Regions from separate parts of the Homo sapiens genome. Here all the other regions are linked to region 1. Evidence: promoter capture Hi-C in 16 types of primary human blood cells and fetal thymus (Javierre and others, 2016). All regions are on one chromosome and are shown on one strand. The core of a region is centred on a gene start or on the middle of the fragment in contact, and the rest is flanking DNA. Distances in the headings are between cores, read along the strand shown. Region 1 holds the start of ASPH (aspartate beta-hydroxylase). Region 2 has its middle 23 kb from the start of TTPA. Region 3 overlaps YTHDF3 (YTH N6-methyladenosine RNA binding protein F3). Region 4 overlaps TTPA (alpha tocopherol transfer protein). Region 5 has its middle 2.8 kb from the start of TTPA. Region 6 has its middle 60 kb from the start of YTHDF3. Region 7 has its middle 39 kb from the start of YTHDF3-DT.

Region 1 (2,909 bases), core at 191-2,690:
TTAGTCCTTAGAATGTAAATTTGTGCAATGGATTTAATGCACTACTTTCCCCATTTAAATCCATTCATTCATTCACTACTCAAATATTTATTGAGCACCTATTATGGGAAAGGAACATTCTAGGAGCTGGGGATACAGAGAGAATGAGCCAAAGACAACACACATGAAAGTAATAAGACAAGTTCAGATAGTGACAAGTGCTATAAAGAAAATACTTCTTTGACTATAGCTGATTCATTTTCTTGGTATATTATGAATGCATGATCTGAAGATCTCAGAAAACAAAGAGTCTAAATCACTTCAAGTGAAGTTTACAGCTCACATTCCATACACATGTGTATTGCAGTTTCAATATCCCAAATATGAGTCAAAGGAAGTATAAAAGAAACCAAGAATCACTGAAATATGAGACGAAACAGATTTAAAAATCTGTTCTCTCTGCTGGATATGCACACGGACGAGGAGAAAGGTGAATATCCAATCGATTTTTATTTTAAGTAAAAGTGGTAAAAATACAGACGCTCGTTCAGTATTTCATGACATTCTATTTTAAAGGCAACTGCAACGCATATTAAGAAAGCTACATACAAGCAAAAATATTTAAAATAATTTCTGAGAGCATTCAAATCACTCCCAACTTCTTCCCTCCCCCTGCCCCCCGGCGCCCCCATTTTCACCTCCTTTGAGTTGCTCTGAAACGCTGCTGGTTAGGCAGGAACTCACTTTCCCTGACTTTGGCTCATTTTCAACTCCCCAAAACACGCAAGGCAAACGATAAATTGTTCTCTTACTCCCATGTTCAATTCCACGGAAAGCCAAGAAACAGTCGTTCAGCAACCTCTGTCTCGGCTGCGCCCTGCAGGTGAAGGAACCGCTGGGAAGGGGCTCCCCGAGACTAGCATCCCGAGGGCTCGGACCCCGGTCCGCCTGGCCCCTCGCCCGCCCGCCAGGCCCGCCGAATGCGGCCTCCGCCCCGCGCGCCTAAAGGAGGAGCGTCGCGGGGGATGGAGGCGGCGCGCGGTGGGACCTGGGGAGATGCACCCGCAGCGTCCGCCGCGCCAGCCGGCTCCCTACCCCGAGGCGAGGCCCCAGATCCCCGCCCCGCAGGGCCTCTGACCTCTCCGGGCCCCGGGGCTGCTGCTGCCCGCACTCGTGCTACCGCTGCCGGAGCCGCTGCTGCTGCTGTTGCCGCTGCTCTTGGCATTCTTACGCTGGGCCATTGCACGGTCCGCGGGGGCTGGTGAGGGCTGGCGGACCTCCTTCAGTGCGCGGGGGTACACACGCGACGCGGGAACCGCTGGCGGCGGCGGGCCGCTGGAGCGGGTTCGGGCCGCTGCTCCTGCAGCAGACCCTGTGCCTCAGCACCGCCTGCAGCACCTGGGAAGACTTCACCCGCCTGCCGGCTGCGCGCGCCCGGCCTCGCGTGTACGAACCTGTGACTCCCTCCCGGGGCGAGAGCGCGCGGCTCGCCGCCCGACGGCCACGCCCCTTCCCGGCCTCGCCCCGCCCCCGGAAGGCTGAGTGACGGCGCCTGGGACCCAATCGCAAGGGCCCTTACGAGGCGGCGGTACCCTGCCGCGCTCCCCGCCCCTGCTCACTTAGGGCTGTTCGGGCGCTACGCAGCTGCCTGTGAGCGCGAGCCTCTTTCGGCTTTCCAGTTTGTCTCGGTCCTTTGGAACGTGGCAAACGTGGAAGCCGAGAGGGCTCTCGCGAGCGTTGGCAGACCCCGCTCCATAGGGATGGGACAGGGCGCGGTGCGGAATAGGTGGACACGTGGGCCGCCCGTGGGCGGAGTGCGCCGCTTCTAGGCCTTTCACTGTGGATTTTGTCCCCTTTCCGTATACAAGGAAAGGAAGGAGTGCAGTCTCGCTTCTTGCGAAAGAGATCCCTATTTCTTGTCCTGATTAATACTAAGACATTTCTGGAATGGTGATATTAGGACTAGTTCAATGCTTAAACCGTAGTAGTTCATCCATTTGGTGCTGAAGCAGGAATTTAGTTCGTTTGTGCCATCAGTATTTTCAGATACTCTTAGTTAAGGAATGAAAATGCAAATGTGACACAAAAAGTTCATTTTCTTACCCTGGATGGCACCCTCTGTCTGAAATCCCTGGCTGCTTTGCTAACGCCTGGGCCTGTGCTGCCTGAGAATTCCCAACAGAGTATTAAAATGTCTTGGCACGTGGTTGAACCAGACAAGGACTTGAGATCAGCGACGTCTTTATCATCTTTGTGTCACCATTGCTAACACCATGCCCAATGTGTAACAGGCAAGCAAGAAATGCTTAGTGATTTGATACATTTCTGTCAATTGCTGAACCCACAGCTCTTGATCATGTTTCGTAGCAACCCCTGGGAGTGTCTCAGGAGGGCTCAGGGACCAGAGAGAGCAGTTGCATTGTGGCATCTGGTTTCATTCCTCTTTTCCAGCCCCACAAACCCACCCACCCGCGCCTTCAGAAGCACTCCCGCCTCCCCCCGGCCCCATGCCTTTTCACCTGTGGATGGTTGGATGCTGCTTGACCCTGCCCTGATGATGCACAGAAACCCCCCAAAGGTCATGTTGCAGAATAAAGAGAATGCCTTTCTTTACCTTTTGTCAAATAGTGTTAGGCTATTATCAAGAGACGGTGGGAGGGGAGAGTTCACAGAGTTTTTATTGAAGTAGCTCTCTCAGCTTTTATCTTGTGGCATCTCCTTCTGCATCCATATATCCTTTCTCCCATTCAGGGCCCCCTTACAACCCTCTATTATATTATCTCAATGAAGGAGGTGGAGAACTGGATTAAGAAATAAATCTGAGTGATGGTGCTTCATATAAAATAAAAATGAGAGCTAAATTTCAAAACACAATGCTCTAGCCACCCCCCACCCCCCACACCAAAGATATTTTTACCCTTAAATTCTCA
Region 2 (3,179 bases), core at 330-2,829, 1.4 Mb after region 1:
GAGTCAAAGAGTATAAATGTTTTTAAAGATTTTGATACATGTTGATAAACCTTCTTCCAGTAAAATCAAATTAGTTAATAAATCTACCAAAAGTAGACCATATATTTCCAATGAATCACAATTTTTATATTTCAACAAAATTGGCAAGTTATGAATCTGAAATAGATGCAGCAGTGTTACATTAATGGATATAAGGATCTAGTATGCAACTATATTAATTTCCTGTTGCTATTGTAACAAATTGCCACAAATTTAGTAACTTAAAATAACACAAATTTAGCCAGGTGCAGTGGCATGTGCCTGTAGTCCCACCTACTCAGGAAGCTGAGGTAGGAGGATTGTTTGGGCCCAAGTGTTTGAGGATGTAGTGTGCTATGATCAGGCCTGTAAATAGCCACTGCACTCCAGGCTGGGCAACACAGTGAGACCCTGTTTCTAAAAGACAACACAAATATATTATCTTACAATTTTGGAGGCTGGAAGTTCAAAATCAGTTTTACATAGTTATAGTTGAGATGTTTACAAGGTGTGGGTTTTTTCTGGAGGATCTTAAAGGAGAATTCATCTTCTTGCATTTTTCTGCTTCTAGCCTGTATTCTTTTTTTGAGACTGAGTCTTGCTCTATCACTCAGGCTGGTGTGCAGTGGCACAATCTTGGCTCCCTGCAACCTTCACGTCTCGGGTCCAAGTGATTCTCATGCCTCAGTCTCCCGAGTAACTGGGATTACAGGCACCCACAACAACACCCGGCTAATTTTTGTATTTTTAGTAGAGACGGGGTTTCACCATGTTAGCCAGGCTGGTCTTGAACTCCTGACCTCAAGTGATCCACCTACCTCGGCCTCCCAAAGTGCTGGGATTATAGGCATGAGCCACTGCACCCAGCCTAGCCTGTATTCTTTAGCTTGTGGCTTCTTCCTCCATCTTCAAAGTATGTCATCACTACTCATCTACTTCTTCATCACATCACCTTCTTCTCTAACTTTTGATTCCTCATGTATCTCTCTTATAATGAGTTCTGTAATTACATCAGGCACACCTAGATAATCAGGATAGTCTCTCCATCTCAAGATCCCTGATTTAATCATATCTGTAAAGTGTCTTTTGCCTTATAAGGTAACATTTACAAGTTCCAGGGCATAAGACATAAATAGGAGAGGTCTTCAAAAAACTCACAGAAAATACATATTATGAAAAAACTATGCATGGACTTTAAGTTTTTTTGCACCAAAATAAGCTCGTACTAACTTATTACAACATGTCTAAACAGAATCTAGTTTAAGGCACTAAAAAGGATAAGACATCAGTTTGAGAAAAGCCCCTATCACAGCAACACGAATTCTGCTAAAATTAACACAAGAACAAACATAAAATTTGTGGTGAAGCTTAGGTGAGAGAAGACGAAATCATTAATGCTTTACAAAAAGCTTACAGGGACAGTGCCTCAAAGGAATCAGAGGTTACAATTGGATATTTGTTTTAAGAAGGGACAAGACAATGTTGAAGATGAAGCCCTGAATGGCAGACCATCCACATCAATTTGTCGGGAAAAAAATGTATCTTGTTCATGCCTTAATTCAAGAGAAGTGACAACAGCACAAACAATAGCCAACACTATAGACATCTCAATTGATTTCATTCACACAATTCTGACTGAAGAAACAAATTTGAACAAACTTTCCAGTCAATGGAAGCCAAAACCATTGCATGCAGATCAGCTGCAGACAAGAACAAGCTTCAATGGAAATTTTAACCAAGTGGGATCAAGATCCTGAAGGATTTCTTCAAAGAATTGTAACAGGAGGTGAAACATGGCTTTACCAGTATGACCCTGAAGACAAAGCACAATCAAAGCAATGGCTACCAAGAGGTGGAAGGGTCTATCTAGTCAAGAGTAAAAGTCATGGTAACAGTGTATCAGGATGCTCAAAGCATTTTACCTGTTGATTTTCTGGAGGGCTGAAGAGCAATAACATCTGCTTATAATGAGAGCGTTTTTGAGAAATTTAGCCAAAACTTTAGCAGAAAAACATGGAAGAAAACTTTATCAGAGTGTTCTTCACCACCACGACAATGCTCCTGCTCATTGCTCTCATCAAACAAGGGGAACTTTGTGAGAGTTTTGATGGGAAATCATTAGGTATTTACCTTACAGTGCTGATTTCACTCCTTTCAACTTCTTTTTGTTTCCTAATCTTAAAAAATCTTTAAAGAGAGCTCATGTCTGTTAGTAATATAAAAAAGACTACATTCACATGGTTAAATTCCCAGGATTTTCAGTTCTTTAGGAAGGGACTAAACAGCTGGTATCATTGCTTACAAAAAAGTATCTTGACCTTGATGGAAGTTATGTTGAGAAATAAAGTTTATCATTTTATTTTTATCTTTTAACTCCATTTTTCCATAAACTTTTTGAAATTCCTTCATATGTTTGGGAACCATTATTCAGTCAGCCACAAAAACCTTTTATAGATACTCTATAAATTTATTCACAAGTAATAAACTTTCACATTCTTTAGTTGTTAAATCAGTGTAATGACATAAAATTACAACTAATTCCATTAAAATTAACCTGCATTTATTGATGGTACAACCAGGAAAAAAGCTGAAGACCATATATTACAATGAGGTAATTTTGTGATATCTGCAGTCATGAGCCAGAGAGGTCACTGGGGAACAAACATACAGTAAAGGGGGAAACTTACTGAGCCTCACTGATAAAGGACCTCTGGGCCACAGCACGAGGGAGAAGATTGTAAGTTACAGTTTTTGCAGACTGCTCTAAATACCATAGGTAATGCCACATAAGTGCATGTGATCAGAAGTGTGCCATAATTTTTTATTACTTCAGCTGAATACCTGAAAGTTGAGAACTACTGGTAATTGGAAAATTACTTATCCAAATTTCTTAAAGTTCTATATTGTAAATTAATGGCTCACAAAGTACGGTCCAGGTACCACCTGTTATTTCCAAGGACCTCACAGTTATAAGGATCAGAATTATGTCTTTTAATTTTTTTTTTTTTTTTTTTTGAAACGGAGTCTCCCTCTGTCGCCCAGGCTGGAGTGCAGTGGTGCTATCTCGGCTCACTGCAAGCTCCGCCTCCTGGATTCATGCCATTCTCCAGCCTCAGCCTCCAGAGTAGCTGGGACTACAGGCGCCCGCCACCACGCCCGGC
Region 3 (2,964 bases), core at 81-2,580, 1.5 Mb after region 1:
TTTGTGTGTATTTTAGTTCTTTATGCTGTTACATAGTTGGCCATTTCTTTGTTTTCTCTTCTTTCTTTTCTTTTCCTTTCCTTTCCTTTTCCCTCCCCACTCCCCCACCTTCCCTTCTCTTTCTTTTCTTTCCAGAGCCTTGCTCTGTTGCCCAGGCTGGAGTGCAGTGGCACAATCTGGGCTCACTGCAGTCTCCACCTTCGGGATTCAAACGATTCTCATGCCTCAGCCTCCCGAGTAGCCAGGACTACAGGTGTGCGCCACCATGGCTGGCTAATTTTTGTATTTTTAGTAGAGATGGGGTTTCACCATGTTGGCCAGGCTGGTCTCAAACTCCTGACCTCAGGTCATCTGCCCACCTCTGCCTTCCAAAGTGCTGGGATTACAGACTTGAGCCACCGTGCCTGGCCAAGTTGGGCATTTCTGAAGATTTAAGTTTTAGTGCCTGATACATTTTTTTTCATATTTGGAATAACTTTAAGATGAGATGATGTTAGGTCTATCTCAGAGTACTCAACTTTGTGTTAACATAGAAGAAATTACTTCAAAAATAGTTATACTTATGACAACAGCAAACATTTCCCTGGCAGTTTTTAGTAACGTGGATTGAAGTGTATTCTATTACCCTTTGGTAAATTTTTCTGTGGTTATAGTTCTCTGTTGATGAAAAAGTTTATTATAATTAACAGAAACAAATTTAATATATAAAATCTACTTTTGTAAAATTTGAAGAATGTTTTTCTAGAATGTAAAGTTGGGCCCAGTATGTAACACATTTGATACAATAAACTTTTATGTAACATATTTAATTAAATAATGTAACATATTTGATTAAATAATTCCTTGATAAAAACATTGGTATTTTGAATAGTCAAGATGATTGAGTTTTTACTGCAGTATTACTCTATTCTGAACTTGGTAAATATTTTTTATGAGTTAGAATTGGAAAGGGGGTGCTTCAATTAACATATTGATTTGTTTTTATTTTTTCTCAGATTATTAATAGTGGTTATGTTCCAATGCTGATAACTTTATCAAGTTAATCATAGATCTTTGGGAGATACTTCTTCCATACTATAATTGTGAGGTGATTAAATTGGACAGAATTTCATTTATAGTCATTTCTTGGTATATACAGGGGATTATTCCAGGACCCCCGCAAATACCAAAATCTGCACATACTCAAGTTCTGCAGTCGCTTCTCCCTCCATATAGGCATGTTTTACATCCCTTGAATACTGCATTTTTTTATCTCTTTCGTTGAAATAATTCGTTGTAAGTGGACTCCTGCAGTTCACACCAGTGTTGTTGAAGGGTCAGCTGTGTTTAATTTATCTTTTTCTTCAGCAAATACATGATAACTTGAGTAGCAATATAATTAACCTTAGGTGGATATGAAATATCTTATGTTTCCAGAAATAAATTATTGAATTATTCCTGTTTAATAGTTTATTTTAAATGTGACATTCAGTTTCTTAATTTAAGGTATGTGTGTCCAAGGAAAGAATATTTTTTCATGAATGAAGAGCTGTAGTTACCGAAGATAAGAGTTATTCTTCCATAAGGGTCATTTGAGGTGCTTAACTGACTTTACCTGTTTCTTGGAATGGCTTAAACATTTTTTTTTTAATTTATAAAAATCTGCTGGGTATTTTACCCTACTCATACATGAATACTGTTGAAGTTAGGGAAAGATATCACAGCTCCATTCTCTGTACTTTGGCCTTTGTTGTATTAAATGAGTAGGGATAGTGTTTGGTCTGTTGTGAATTGCTGTCTCAGTTATTTACGACTGTCTAATAGATTTCTCCAAAACTCATTGGCTTAAAACATACAGTTTACAGTTTTTGCATGTCAGAAATCTGGGCACAGCTTGTCTGGGTCCTCAGCTTTAGGGCCTCTCACAAGGCTACAGTCAAGGCAGGGCTTGAGGTCTCATTGTGAATACTCTGCTGGTGAAAAATCTGCATCCAAACTCACGGTTGTTGGCAGAATTCAGTTTCTCAAGCGTTGTTGGACTAAGAGCCTCAGTTCCTTTTGGCTGTATGCCAGAGGCTGCCTATACTGTGTTCCTTGCCACATGGGACTTTCCCACAGGAGGCTTGCTTCATCAAAGTGAGCAAGCTGAGAGGGCAATAGAGTAAGCTGAGGAGGCAGTAGCTACCAGGACAGAAGTCACAGTCTTTTGTAACTTAATTACAGAAGTGACACTCTGTCGCCTCGGCTGAATTTTTTTTTAAATTTTTAAATTTCTTTTTCTTTTTTTTCTTTTTTTTTTCCTTATTCTTTAATTTGAGATACTGGGGATTGAACATCTGCTGAATTCTGTTGATTAGAAGCAATTCACTCATTGGGTCCAGGCCATACTCAGGGGAGGGGATTTATAAGGGTGTGAATACCTGAATGCAGAGACCATTGTGGTACTCCCTGCCACAACTCTTTTGAACCTTTTTATGGGTGGACCATATGGTTATATCAAATCATGGTACCTGATTTGAATTTATGGTGGTCTGGCAGTGTTTGTTATGATTATCAGGTTTTCAAATTTTTATTTGTAAACTGAAAAATTAGATTAAAGCCTTATTCAATTTAAAACATGTTATCTTTATTTCTAGCAAATACAATTTTGATTGGGAGTTTCAGGGTGTCAAGGTGAATTTTTAAGATGGGCCTTGAATGATAATATGTAGGATTTCATAATAAAGTCAAGACAGGCATTCAGAGCCTAGGGTATTGTGATATGTTGAAGTAATCGAAAATAGCCAAAACTTAGGGAGGGGAGGCAGTACAGAAAAAGAGATAAAGTTGGAAAGATGAATCACAAGTCGAAGGAATTGTTATTCAGCAGGCATTTTTGAACATGCTAGACACTTAAGGGATAGAGCTCATTAAGAAAATTTCTGTCTTCAAGGAGCTAAAGTCTGATAGTATTGAGGAATCATTTTTAAAGTTTTTAAGCAAGGA
Region 4 (3,174 bases), core at 171-2,670, 1.4 Mb after region 1:
AAAAAACATTCATTGATAAGATAAATGCTGGAAAAGACAGAGCCAATCGAGGAAAAATGGTTTGGAAGATCAAGTTGAAGAATTCTCTCAAATTTGGCACAAAAGAGCCAAGAGTTGACATGTATGAATAGAAAGGTAAGAAATACATGCAGCTGGATCCAGGAGTTTCAACATCCAACTAATAAAAGTTCTAGAAGGCAGTAACAGAAAACAGAGGAGAGAGGAATCATAGCAATAGAGAAAAGTTCTCCAAAGCTGAAAAAAAAAACATGTAAGTCTTCAGACTGAAGTGCCTAACAGGATGAACGAAAAAGAAAAAAAAATCATAACTAAGCAATAGTAAATTTTCAAAAAAAAAAAAAAACAACAAAAGTTCTGGCATGGGAAACTGGATAGAATTGTGGCACCATTTATTTATTTATTTTCAACTTTTATTTTAGATTCAGGGGGTGCATGTGCAGATTTGTTACCTTGGTATACTGCATGATGCTGAGGTTTCAGGTATAAATGATCTTGTCACCCAGGTATGTGAGCACAGTACCCAATAGGAAGTTTTTCAACGCTTGCTCCCCTCCCTCCCTCTCCTCTCTTGTCATCTCCAGTGTCTACTGTTCCCATCTTTATGTCATAAACACCCAGTGTTTAGCTCCTACTTATAAGTGAGAACATGTGGTATTTCGTTTTCTGTTCCTGTTTTAATTCACTTAAGATAATGGCCTCCAGCTGCATCCCTGTTGCTGCAAAGGACATAATGTCATTCGTTTTATGGCTGTGTAGTACTCCATGGTGTACACGCAGTACCATTTATTGAGATAAGAGACCTGTTTGGGTGGAAAAGATTATAAGTATGGACATGTTAAAATGGTGACCATGAGACATCCAACTGGGTGCAGCTGGAATAGCAGCTAGTTGTGTGGGTCTGGATCCTCAAGGAAAAGATGGGAGTGAAGATACAAATCTGGGGGCTGTTTGTGCCTACATGATGATCCACAACAGGGATTGTCTCAGAGCTATGTTTTTCTCTATCAAAGCAGAGAGATGAAGTAACATAAAAAGAAAAGGCTGAGGCCAATGTCCTAAAAAAATTCAGAGTTTAAAGGATGAGTAGAAGAGGAAATGCCAGAAAAAGAGATTAAGGAGGAGCAGCCAGTGATGTCAGAGAAAAACACCAAGAGAACATGGCATCAGAGAAGCCAAGGGAAGAGGATTTTTCAAGAAAGCAGAAGTGATTCACTTTGTTGAGAGGTTAAGTGAAATAGGACTAAATATGTCCATTAAATGTGGTAAAAAGAAAGTCAATAATGGTTGGTTACATTCATTTCAGCAGGGATGGGAGTGAAATCAAACTAGGGTGGGCTGAGGAGGAACTGTGAGAAAATGTGGATGGTGGACATCACTAACAAAGAGAGGGGAGATAGATGTAATGAAGGAGGGAGAGTTTTGTGGAACGAATGAGGAGTTTTTGTTTTGTTTTTAGTGGCTGGCCCTTAACTGATTTAAATGTTAACTGGTAGCATGTAGTAGCAAGAGAAAAGTTGAAGATCTAGAAAAAGAAAGAATAAACAGAAATATTCCTAAGAAGCCACAATGGGATTGCTATTTTTTAAAAATTTTTATTTTCTGTCATATTAATGGATCCTTCAGGAGGTGTGTTAGTGTTTTTTAAAAGCCTCAGATTTCTGGCCGGGCATGGTGGCTCACACCTGTGATCCCAGCACTTTGGGAGGCCAAGGTGGACAGATCACTTGAGGCCAGGAGTTCAAGACCAGCCTGGCCAGCATGGTGAAACTTCATCTCTACTAACAATACAAAAATTAGCTGGGCATAGTGACACACACCTGTAGTCCCAGCTACTTGGGAAGCTGAGGCAGGAGAATCGCTTGAACTCGGGAGGCAGAGGTTGTAGTGAGTCGAGATGGCCCACTGCTCTCCAGCCTGGGCAACAGAACAAGACTCTGTCTCAAAAAAACAAAACAAAACAAAACAAAACAAAAAAACAAGCCTCAGATTTCTCATAAGAATTTGAACAATCAACCCATGGATAACCCAGATCAAAAATACTATACTAACTTCAGACATTGGCTGAATGCTATAATGATTAAAAAAAAAAAAAAGAACATATGAAGTTTGCCAATCAAAAAAATAGTTTATGTCCTAAGTTCTGAGCCAACCAACATAATTGTTTGGCCTACACTGGCTAATATGGTAGCCATTAGCCATGTGTGGTCATTCAAATTTAAATTAAAGATTTAGTTTCACCAGGTGCAGTGGTTCATGCCTAGAATCCCAGCACTTTGTGGGTCTGATGGGGGAGGATTGCTTGAGGCCAGGAGTGAGACCATCCTGGGCAACATAGTGAGAATGCATCTCTAAAAAATAAAAATAATAAAAAAACTGGCTGAGTGTGGTAGCACATGCCTCTAGTCCCAGCTACTCCAAAAGCCGAAGTGGGAGGATCACTTGAGCCCAGGAGTTCAAGACTGCAGTGAGCTATGATTGTGCCACTGCACTCTAGCCCAGATGGCAGAGTAAGACCCTAGCTTAGAAAAAAAAAAAAAAAATCTGTTTCTTAGTTGCAGTAGTCACATTTCAAGTGCTCAATAGCCACATGAGAATAGTGTCTATTGTAGAACAGTTTCATCATCATAGAAAGTTCTATGGTACAGTGCTGGCTAGAATTTAAGCTCCATTGAGGCAAAAGAAAAATATACCTTATATTTTGAATTCCTTCTCCAGTATCTACTTAATATGTATTGAGTGCTTTTATGTACCAGGTAATGCTCTTGTTATATTTTAGATAGACAGACTGATAGATTGATTTAATGCTTACAGCAACCCTATGTGACAGCTTTTCAATGTGCCCATTTTACAGATGAGAAAATGCAGTTACAGCTACATAGTGTTTCACACAGCTAGAATGTAGCAGAGCTGAGATTCCAATCCAGGTCACATGCTCCAGAACCTGTATTCACAAGAACTAAGCCACAGTCAAAACTTCACACTCACTGTTAAATTTTACTTTTGCTGCTAGTAGTATACTATGGGATCTCAAAAAACATAAAATTATATCCTACAGCATGTTGGCTGATAAAGGTCAAAACTTAGCTTCACCTTGGGTTGCCCGGCCCGCATGGAGGAAAGGGCTGTGTGCATTTTCTCATTGCTTTTACTGCA
Region 5 (3,192 bases), core at 569-3,068, 1.4 Mb after region 1:
ATCTTTGCTTTTAAGGAGCTCAGAGGGTGGAGAAAGAGACTGCCATTTCATTCATTAAAGAAAGAGTGATTGGGTGGTTACTGTGTCCAGACCCTATTCTAGGTACTGAGGGCACTCCTGTGAACAAAATAGACACAACTCTTGCTTTCAAGGAGTTTTCATTCTTTTGGGGGAGGGAATGGATGATTAACAAGATAAATCAGTAAATAATGTGATATAAGAAATGGCAGTCAATGCTATGGGGAAACGAAGCCAAAAAGTGGGCAGCACCTACAGTGACGTTGGAATAAACACCTGAGTGAGGTGAGCGAGCTTGGCCCAGGGGTATCTGGGACTGGAAGGCTGTGGGCTTTGGCTTCTGTTCTGAGGGAGATGGGAAGCATTAGAGTAAATAATCCCAATCCAACCAGAAAGCAACTATACCTGGGGACAAAAGATTCCTAGCTTTGGCTTATACTCAGAGTGAGACGGAAGCTATTTGAGTAAAGGTTTACAAGTCAATGTGACAAGTGTACAAAACAGGTTTGGAGACCATGGTGTGAGAACACAGAGGAACACTACCGACACTGCCTAAGAGATTTGGAAAGGCCTCACAAAGGGGCTGTTTGCACGGCCTTAGTGAATGCACTGGGAATGTTTGCCAACCAAAGGAGAGAGGGGGAAGGAAGAAAGTACTAGTCAAGAGGGGCTGACTGTGCAAGGCCTTTCTGGAAGCTCCGAAGAATTAAAAGACAATGGTAGCCTTTCTTCTCTAGAAGTTTTAAGTGTCTAAAAATAATAAGAGAGGGCCTATAGAGCATGTTTTCCTCCCTTCCAAAAGATTTTTTTCAATGCTCTCTCCTACTTGTTTTTAGTAATTAGCATCCACTTTTTTGAAATTGGGCAGAAAGTTCAGTGAGAGATCGGGGACATTATCTAGCTATAGCCATTGAAGGTGCAAAGAGAATGTCTCTTCCCCTCTGTAAGTTCCATGATTTTAGTCTATAAAACAAACTGACAGTAGACAGACGAATGGGAAAAAGGCACATGCGTATATTAACGTGTGTAAACAAGGGAGTCATACACAAAGTATGAGACTTAAAGAAGGGGCCAGATAATGAAGTTTTATACCATCCTGAGGTTACAGAAAGAATAGGGGCTTGGGGCTTCTCGAGGAGAGATGGAGACACGGGTTATGGGAAAGTGAGGGGGAAAGCATGGCATAGAGCCTACCTAGTTTTGCAGATAAAATCCTCCAGGGAGGAGCTCTCAGAAAGAATAAGACAGGAGCCTGTAGTAACAGTTTCCCTAGTGGACCTTTAAGGTGTCCAACTTTTAGTCCCTTTTTCCCAAAAGTTAATCTTTCCTAGATCCAGAGAAGGGGAGCCTCAGAGAAAGCTTGGATGTTTATTTCACCTATATGGATTTTCTCTACAGATACAAATCTCCCCTATAAAAGACAGCTTTTCAGGGCTATTCTTGTGCTGGCAGTCCCTCTGAATAGCCATCTCAAAATAGACCAAAGGAGTATATTGTGAATGGCATATTTTTGGTTTCCTTCATTGTAGTATCCCTTTTTTTTTTTTGAGACGGAGTCTTGCTCTATTGCCAGGCTGGAGTGAAGTGATGCAATCTCAGTTCACTGCAACCTCCGCCTCCAGGGTTCAATAGATTCTCCTACTTCAGCCTCCTGAGTAGCTGGGACCACAGTCGCACACTGCCATGCCTAGCTAATTTTTGTATTTTTAGTAGAGATGGGGTTTTACCATGTTGGCCAGGATGGTCTCTATCTCTTGACTTCGTGATCAGCCCGCCTCAGCCTCCCAAAGTGCTGGGATTTCAGGTGTCAGCCACTGTGCCTGGCCTAGTGTCCCTTTTTAGAACTGATAAATCTGTTATTTCTGCATCTGTGAAACTCTTCTAAGAAATCAATAAGATTGACTGATTGATTGCCATTAAACTCAGTGAAAATGAAGCCAACATGGAGCCCAGATGGTGGTGAGAGGTGGCTCCTAAATACCTAAGAGGTGGCAGAGGGAGCGGTGGATATCTATAACTCAAGTGGGAAGCAATGCCAATGTCAGCAGTTAGCCCAGTGGTAGAAAAGATTGCACGACTATGGGAAAGAGAGAAAAAAGTTGAAGAATTGATGGGGCAGACATAAAAGGTGAGAATTTTACACTACAACTTGATTACTTTGGGGTTAAATTATACAGATCGTGCTTCTGTCTTTCAACAATGTTATCTTGGATTTATATAAAAATTTTAGAATTCTTGGCACAAGCTTTCAAGAGCTGTTACTCAATTTTTGTTTTGAAATGTTTTCAAATTTTCTATGCTCATATTTTACTCTGGTGAGCTCTTGTGTTTACCGAAAATGCATCCAGGCCTCTGGCTGAAAGAGTCCAAAGGGATTTCTGGAACTAATGGTATGAGGAAATAAAAGCAAAACTGGAATGAAAAGTTAGTTGACTTTTGTAGCTACCTTACAATTTACTCTGAAATTATTTAACATTTAGTTATTTATTAGCATAATAATTCATAAGTATACCAATTTATTTTACTTTCAGCTTCACAGAAAAGACAAATATTTTTCACTGTTAAAAGATAACATTTTCAAAAAGAGATAAAATTATGACACTTATACATATATAAAACTGAACAAGTGTTAAAGATTTTATTCAACTGGTAAGGAGGAAAGTAGACACATGTTATTGCAAGTTCAAATAAGTTAAAAAAAAAAGCACACATTTACATGGAGTAAAGGATGTTGAAAGGGATGTGCAAATGGAGGCAAAACTAACTTCTTTCACAGTGAGGGAGAGAGGTCAATCAAAACTCCTCCAGGCAGTTCAGAATTAGCATGTTATTAGACAAGAATTATTTGCCATTGCTATCAGTTATCTACAGTTCACAGAATTGTAAAATAGCTTCGATAGAATGAGAATCAAATAATGCAGGAGGTGCCATCTAGAGTCTATGTAATGCATAATTTTCCATTGAAGCAGAAATATTACCCCACATCACTTGGGAAACTCTATGTAAAATTTATAAAATAATATTTACCACAGAACATTTCAACCATATGTAAAAATAATAGTAATGAATACCAATATACAGTCTGCTTCAGCAATCAATGATATTTTGCCAATCTTGTTTTATCCACCTCCCCTACTTTTTTAATAAGCTGAAATATTTTAAAGACATACCCAC
Region 6 (3,178 bases), core at 496-2,995, 1.5 Mb after region 1:
TGAGAGATAATAAAATGATTGTTTTCTTAAGTGCCTACAGTTTTGTTGTGGTTTGTTACATCGCAGTAGAAACCAAAACCGAAATTGTTTCTTGGAAGTGGAGTGTGGCTTAATGGTAAACTATTACATGAGAGTTTGACTTTGGGATAGGTAGAAGCTGGAAGGGCCTCGAGGACAATTTTAGGGAAGCCTGTTAGGACAGGAAGGAACTTGTCATTAGGAGAAAAGGTGACTCATGTTACTTATGACAGAAAGCTTGGTAGAAAGTTGGAAACATGGAAAATAGAAAATATAACTAATACACTTATGGTCCTAGCTCTTTGCATATATCCACTATACTCCCCTGAACAGCTTGTTAAGAATGGGAACAATATTCCTATTAGTGAAGTGAGGAAATCCCAACTAAAGGAAGTTAAATGTCTGTCCAGTATCATATCTGGTAAGTTGCGGAGAGATACTTTTAACACAATTTGGCTAAAGGAATTTTTCAGGTGAAAGAAAAAGTACCAATGGATTTCTTTTGGCTGCGCATGAAAAAATAGAGATGAACTAAAGAAGAAACAGTTTAGTTTTTGAGCAGAACTTGAAGGAAATATTTCTAAGCAGGAAGCTGTTAGAGACTTGGTTGGTGTGTCTGTATGACAAGAAAGTGAGGAAAGTTATGTTGTTGGATGTGAAAGGCAGCAACTAGGCCTTCTCATATATGATTCCATGCCTCAAGCCATCACACAGACTATTCAATTGGAGTAGGATCAGGCTTCAAAGAAAGGCTTTGGATCTCTGTTTCCATGGCCCTCTGATTGTACTGATGTACTTATGGCCAACTCATGGAGACTTTTTCAGGGCCATAAAATCCCAGAAAGTGGCCGGGCGCGGTGGCTCACGCCTGTAATCCCAGCACTTTGGGAGGCCGAGACGGGCGGATCACGAGGTCAGGAGATCGAGACCATCCTGGCTAACACGGTGAAACCCCGTCTCTACTAAAAATACAAAAATTAGCCGGGCATGGTGGCGCGCGCCTGTAGTCCCAGCTACACGGGAGGCTGAGGCAGGAGAATGGCGTGAACCCGGGAGGCGGAGCTTGCAGTGAGTCGAGATCGTGCCACTGCACTCCAGCCTGGGCGACAGAGCGAAACTCCGTCTCAAAAAAAAAAAAAAAAAAAAATCCCAGAAAATACTATGGAATATGGTATCACAGCACAAGAACTATAGCTTCTCCAGACTGGCTTGTCATGGCAGTCTGGACAATGGACAAAATGGCAACTCCAAAAACGACCTCTGTACCAAAATCTGCCCCTAAATGTTGGGAACATTAACTTTATTGTCGGTAGCTAGAGTCACTGTGCAAGAATCTGTGAATGATTGATTACCCAGGATAAAGATTGACACACCCTGTAAACAAAGCAATATCTCTGCAAAATGAGACAAAATGAAGGATAGGAATAAAAACAAACCCTCTTCAAAGGAACCTGGTGATAAGGTGATATGGATCCCAAGGAAGAAACTGATGTGGTTGGCACTTGGAGTAATTGGGTCAAGATATTAACGGGGGCAGGTGGGCTTCAGCAGGCAGTTTTCCACCCACTTGAAACAGAAGGTGCTTCTTTAGAATCAGATTCCTCCAAAATGATCAACCTCCAACTACTGGAGAAAAGAAGTCAAGAGGCTGCCTGACCCTTGCTCCTGTATCCCGATTTGACAGCCTATGAGAGGAAGATAGACAAGGTCCCTGATCCTAGAAGTTACTGAAGACCTTGCATTCCATTGAGGATACAGTGGGATAGGATGGAGGGATTTGGCATACAATAGTTTTTTTCTTTTTTTGAGATAGAGTCTCACTCTGTCACCCAGGCTGGAGTACGGTGGCATGATCTTGGCTCACTGCAACCTCCACCTCCCGGGTTCAAGCGATTCTCCTGCCTCAGCCTCCCGAGTAGCTGGGATCCTAGGCACCCACCATGATGCCCAGCTAATTTTTGTGTTTTTAGTAGAGATGGGGTTTCACCATGTTGGCCAGGTTGGTCTCAAACTCCTGACCTCGTGATCCACTGGCCTCGGCTTCCCAAAGTGCTGGGATTACAGGTGTGAGCCATCATGCCTAGCTGGCATACAATTTTTTTTTTTTTTTGAGATGGAGTCTCGCTCTTTCGCCCAGGCTGGAGTGCAGTGGCACGATCTCTGCTCACTGCAAGCTCCGCCTCCTGGGTTCACGCCGTTCTCCTGCCTCAGCCTCCCCAGTAGCTGGGACCACAGGCGTCTGGCTGGTCCCATGCCTGGCTAATTTTTTTGTATTTTTAGTAGAGACGGGGTTTCACCATGTTAGCCAGGATGGTCTCGATCTCCTGACCTTGTGATCCGCCCGCCTCGGCCTCCCAAAGTGCTGGGATTACAGGCGTGAGCCACCGTGCCCGACCTGCATACAAATTTTTATGGCTCTTTTGGGTATCAGTGTTCACATGATTATCTTAGCAGGTTCTTTTGAGGGGTGAGGACCACAGCTTCAACTGGCCAGATTTGAAAGGGGAGTGAAATATGTAAGAGAAGTAACTGTAATCATCTGTGTTGGGCTGCTTAAAGCATTCTTAGGCACTGCCATTATTGCTCTTATTGCTGAATGCACAGTTGGTATTGATACTTTGCATACTTGTAAGTGCTCATAAATTTCAATTGAGAAGAGTTGCTTGTGATAGTGGGATGAACGCACTTACTAGGCCTCCAATTCCATCCACATTATGCAACAAAAACACCATATAATTACAGGAGGAGTAAAGGAACACAAAACCATAATTAAGGACTTCAAGACAGCAGTGGTATTGACAAATGCAATTTATTACAGTAGTTCAGTGTGCCCACTGGACAGGCTGATAGGAGCTAGAGGTTTCCATTATGGTAGATTATTACTATTGAATTCAGTTGTTATATTCCTGCTATTTCAGACATTGTATATCAAAACTGTTGGCACCTGGAATGTCATCTTAGACATTTCAAATGCCTTTTTTTAAAATCCTTTATGCACGAAGAGATTAAGATCAGTAGCATTCACCTGGCTGGGGCTTCAATGCATATTTATGATACTGCAACAGGAGTATGAGAATTCTCATACCCACCAATAGGTGGACGGAAACATGAAACGAATTTCTCTCCCTCTGGGAGTTTAGTTCCACTGCATGATGTAATT
Region 7 (2,971 bases), core at 205-2,704, 1.4 Mb after region 1:
GGGGATTCTTGTTTGCAAAGGGTGTATAGGGACATGGAAGAGGAAGAGCTGTATTCTTTCTGATATCCTCCAACTCTTCTGTCTATTCTTCAGTTTCTTTTTATCTGTAGGTCTCTGCTTTTAAAACTCAAAAGCCAAGAAGAGACTCCCCCTAACCTTTTTATTTTTTCTGTAGCCACATCCTTTCCATGAGTGTAAACCTAAGAGTCCAGCTGCTGCTTAAATATGGAAAAAGGATCAAGAAGCAAAAGGAAAAGGGAGAAAAGAGAAGAGGGGGTTTGGATAGAGACCGATAAATATTGCAAAATCAGTCTCCTGCTTCATAAGTATAATTGTAACTCCTGAATGAAATATTCGTGATGGGTTTCTAAAGATGAATTTAAGACTATTTGCTAATTTTAAGTGTGTGAATGTGGTAAAGTGCAATTACTCTGCTGTTTTATAGCACATCCCCAGGCATCAGAGAGAACTAGCATTGGGTGAGTCCCCGCTGGGCCTCAGGCACTGGGCGCAAGATTCAGAGCAACCCTGTGAGATGGGCACCATGATTCCATTTTTTAAATTAAGAAACTGGCCTGTTGCTGCGGCTCAGGACTGTAATCCCAGCACTTTGGGAGGCTGAGGCAGGAGGATCTCTTAAGGCCAGGGGTTTGAGGTTATAGTGAGCTGTGGTTGCACCCCTGAATTCCAGCCTGGGCAACAGAGAGAGACCCTTTCTCTTAAAAACAAATAAATAAATAATTTAAAAGTAAAACATTGAAGTAAGGAAACCAAGGAAGCATTAACTAACTTACTTAAAGCCATACAGCTATTGTGTACCTTGGCCAGGATTCAAAGTAAGATATACAAGTGAAAAATCCATGCATTCTCAGTATTTTTCACTGCCTCTTATAGAATTCTGGACTCATGGTTTGTCCAATACAGCATTTGGTTATTATTTCTGTTTATTTTGTTACTTTATTTATTTATTTGAGATAGGGTCTCACTCTGTCACCCAGGCTGGAGTGCAGTGGCTTGATCTCGGCTCACTGCACCCTCCACCTCCTGGCTTCAAGCGATTCTCCAGCCTCAGCCTCCCAAGTAGCTGGGATTACAGGCGTGTACCACCATGTCCGGCCAAAAAACTTTAATTTTAAAACATTCATGTTAAAGCTGATTTTCTCATAGGCTAGATTATGACCCAACCACCACTTTTAATCAGCTACAAATGACATATCTGTTTAATCTATACATTGCTTTCTAATATATTTAACTTAGAGAACTACAATACTCCTGTAAAATTTTGTTTAATAATTCAGTATCATAGTCTATATCAACAAGAAGGAACACTTAGTTATCACAATGTGTCAATCACTATGCTTGTTACTTTAAATACAGTCAATCTTCATTATTTTCAGATTCTGTATTTGCAAATATGTCCACTCATTAAAATTTATTTGTATGCCAGGCATGCTCCCTCACACCTGTAATCCCAGCACCTTGGGAAGCCGAGGCGGGCAGATCACTTGATGCCAGGAGTTCGAGACCAGCGTGACCAACATGGCGAACCCCCCAACCCCCCATCTGTAAAAAAAAAAAATTTGTAACCCCCAAATCAACACTCCAGTGCTTTCATAGTCACAGACATACACGTGCACAGAACAGAAAAAAAAAAAATTGCATTGCTGGAGGAGGCCCATTTTCCCAGCTGAACTCAAACCAGGTGATACTCCGCCGCCTTCTTTTAGTTCTTACACAGTAAACAAGTTTCTTTTTTGTGATCTTCATAGTGCCACATTTTTTACATTTGTGTACTTTTTCTTGGTGATTTTGTTGTCTGAAATGGCTCCCAAGTGTAGTTCTGAAGTGCTGTCCAGTGTTCCTAATTGAAGAAGCTGTAATGTGTCTTATGAAGAAAATTAAGTATGTTAAAGAAACTTCCTTCAGGCAGCAGTTATAGCGCTTTGGCCATGAGTTCAGTGTTAATGAATCAATAGTTTATATTAAATAAGGTGTCTTTAAACAGAAACAGGAATAAAACAAGGTTACCTGGTTATCCCCTGATGAGAATGTTGTGACCAGGGGCTTGAGGGAACCTAACCCTATGTTATGCCCAGGAGCAATGGCTCTGTAATGTCTAATTCAATGTTTGAGATGACTTTATAGAACTACTGTGGATAAGAAAAAATTGACTGTACGTTTGCTTGTATAAGCTAATTCTTTAAAAAATTTTTATTATGAAAAATTTCAAATAGATAAGTAAAGAGAATAGAAAGGAAACCCTGGGGACCTATCATCACCCAGCCTCAAAAATTACCAACTCACCCAAACTTGTTTTTCTCTTTAACCATCTAATTCCTTCTCTCCTCCTTGCATTTGACACAAATCCCAGACATTGTATCATTTCAACCTTATCTACTTTATACGTTAAATTCCTGTTAAATTTTTTAAATTATAAGAATAGAAAATCTGAAATCTGGAAAAGTTACAAGGAGGAGAAAATAACCATGTAAATTAATACCGAATTAACATTTTATTTTTTCTCAGTCTTTTTATGTATAAATTAAAAGATTGGAATCATTCTGATTAGATTTCTTTTCATATAAAGTTAAATTGTTTTAAATAACATTAAACATTCTTCAAAAATATAGTGAAATAGGCTCTGCATGGTGGTTCACAACTGTAATCTCAGCACTTTGGAAAGCCAAGGCGGGTAGATCACTTGAGTCCAGTAGTTCAAGACCAGCCTGGGCAACATGGTGAAACCCCGTCTCTACCAAAAAATACAAAAATTAACTGGGCATGGTGGTGCAAGCCTATAATCCCAACTACTTGAGACGCTGAGATGGGAGGATCACCTGAGCCCTGGAAGGTAGAGGCTACGGTGAGCTATGATCACATCATTGCAGTCCAGCAAGGGTGACAGAGGGAGATCCTGTCTCAAAAATGTGTGTGTGTGTGTGTGTGTCTGTATGTGTAAAATAAAATATAA

The links. The method cuts DNA at HindIII sites, captures the fragments that hold promoters and counts their contacts. A CHiCAGO score of 5 or more calls a contact.
Region 2: a contact is called between a fragment that was not itself captured here and the fragment with the promoter of ASPH in region 1, in 11 of 17 cell types (naive CD8 T cells, naive CD4 T cells, total B cells and 8 more). The highest score is 15.4, in naive CD8 T cells.
Region 3: a contact is called between a fragment that was not itself captured here and the fragment with the promoter of ASPH in region 1, in 8 of 17 cell types (M1 macrophages, activated CD4 T cells, monocytes and 5 more). The highest score is 13.1, in M1 macrophages.
Region 4: a contact is called between a fragment that was not itself captured here and the fragment with the promoter of ASPH in region 1, in 1 of 17 cell types (total B cells). The highest score is 7.9, in total B cells.
Region 5: a fragment that was not itself captured here is called in contact with the fragment with the promoter of ASPH in region 1 in 1 of 17 cell types (endothelial precursors); the score reaches 6.2 in endothelial precursors.
Region 6: a contact is called between a fragment that was not itself captured here and the fragment with the promoter of ASPH in region 1, in 1 of 17 cell types (activated CD4 T cells). The highest score is 6.4, in activated CD4 T cells.
Region 7: a contact is called between a fragment that was not itself captured here and the fragment with the promoter of ASPH in region 1, in 1 of 17 cell types (monocytes). The highest score is 6.7, in monocytes.

What each region holds. Positions count from the first base shown.
Region 1 is chr8:61,713,152-61,716,060 of GRCh38, forward strand. It overlaps ASPH (aspartate beta-hydroxylase), which reads right to left and starts at 1,441. Exons shown (of 25, transcript NM_004318.4): 1 at 1,118-1,441. The coding sequence starts at 1,220. MIR4470 (microRNA 4470) reads left to right here and starts at 1,637; the gene lies at 1,637-1,708. RefSeq lists silencers at 811-1,240, 1,281-1,650. The HindIII fragment of the contact is 6,840 bases long and covers 1-2,909 here.
Region 2 is chr8:63,107,661-63,110,839 of GRCh38, forward strand. No RefSeq gene overlaps it. Among named protein-coding and RNA genes, the nearest start is that of TTPA, 23 kb to the left of the region's middle. The HindIII fragment of the contact is 308 bases long and covers 1,426-1,733 here.
Region 3 is chr8:63,198,157-63,201,120 of GRCh38, forward strand. The region is part of intron 4 of YTHDF3 (YTH N6-methyladenosine RNA binding protein F3); the gene reads left to right. Among named protein-coding and RNA genes, the nearest start is that of YTHDF3, 31 kb to the left of the region's middle. RefSeq lists an enhancer at 1,732-1,781. The HindIII fragment of the contact is 5,756 bases long and covers 1-2,964 here.
Region 4 is chr8:63,067,192-63,070,365 of GRCh38, forward strand. All of the region lies in intron 2 of TTPA (alpha tocopherol transfer protein), which reads right to left. Among named protein-coding and RNA genes, the nearest start is that of TTPA, 17 kb to the right of the region's middle. The HindIII fragment of the contact is 8,417 bases long and covers 1-3,174 here.
Region 5 is chr8:63,087,214-63,090,405 of GRCh38, forward strand. No RefSeq gene overlaps it. Among named protein-coding and RNA genes, the nearest start is that of TTPA, 2.8 kb to the left of the region's middle. The HindIII fragment of the contact is 886 bases long and covers 1,376-2,261 here.
Region 6 is chr8:63,226,624-63,229,801 of GRCh38, forward strand. No RefSeq gene overlaps it. Among named protein-coding and RNA genes, the nearest start is that of YTHDF3, 60 kb to the left of the region's middle. The HindIII fragment of the contact is 2,985 bases long and covers 254-3,178 here.
Region 7 is chr8:63,127,789-63,130,759 of GRCh38, forward strand. No RefSeq gene overlaps it. Among named protein-coding and RNA genes, the nearest start is that of YTHDF3-DT, 39 kb to the right of the region's middle. The HindIII fragment of the contact is 4,490 bases long and covers 1-2,971 here.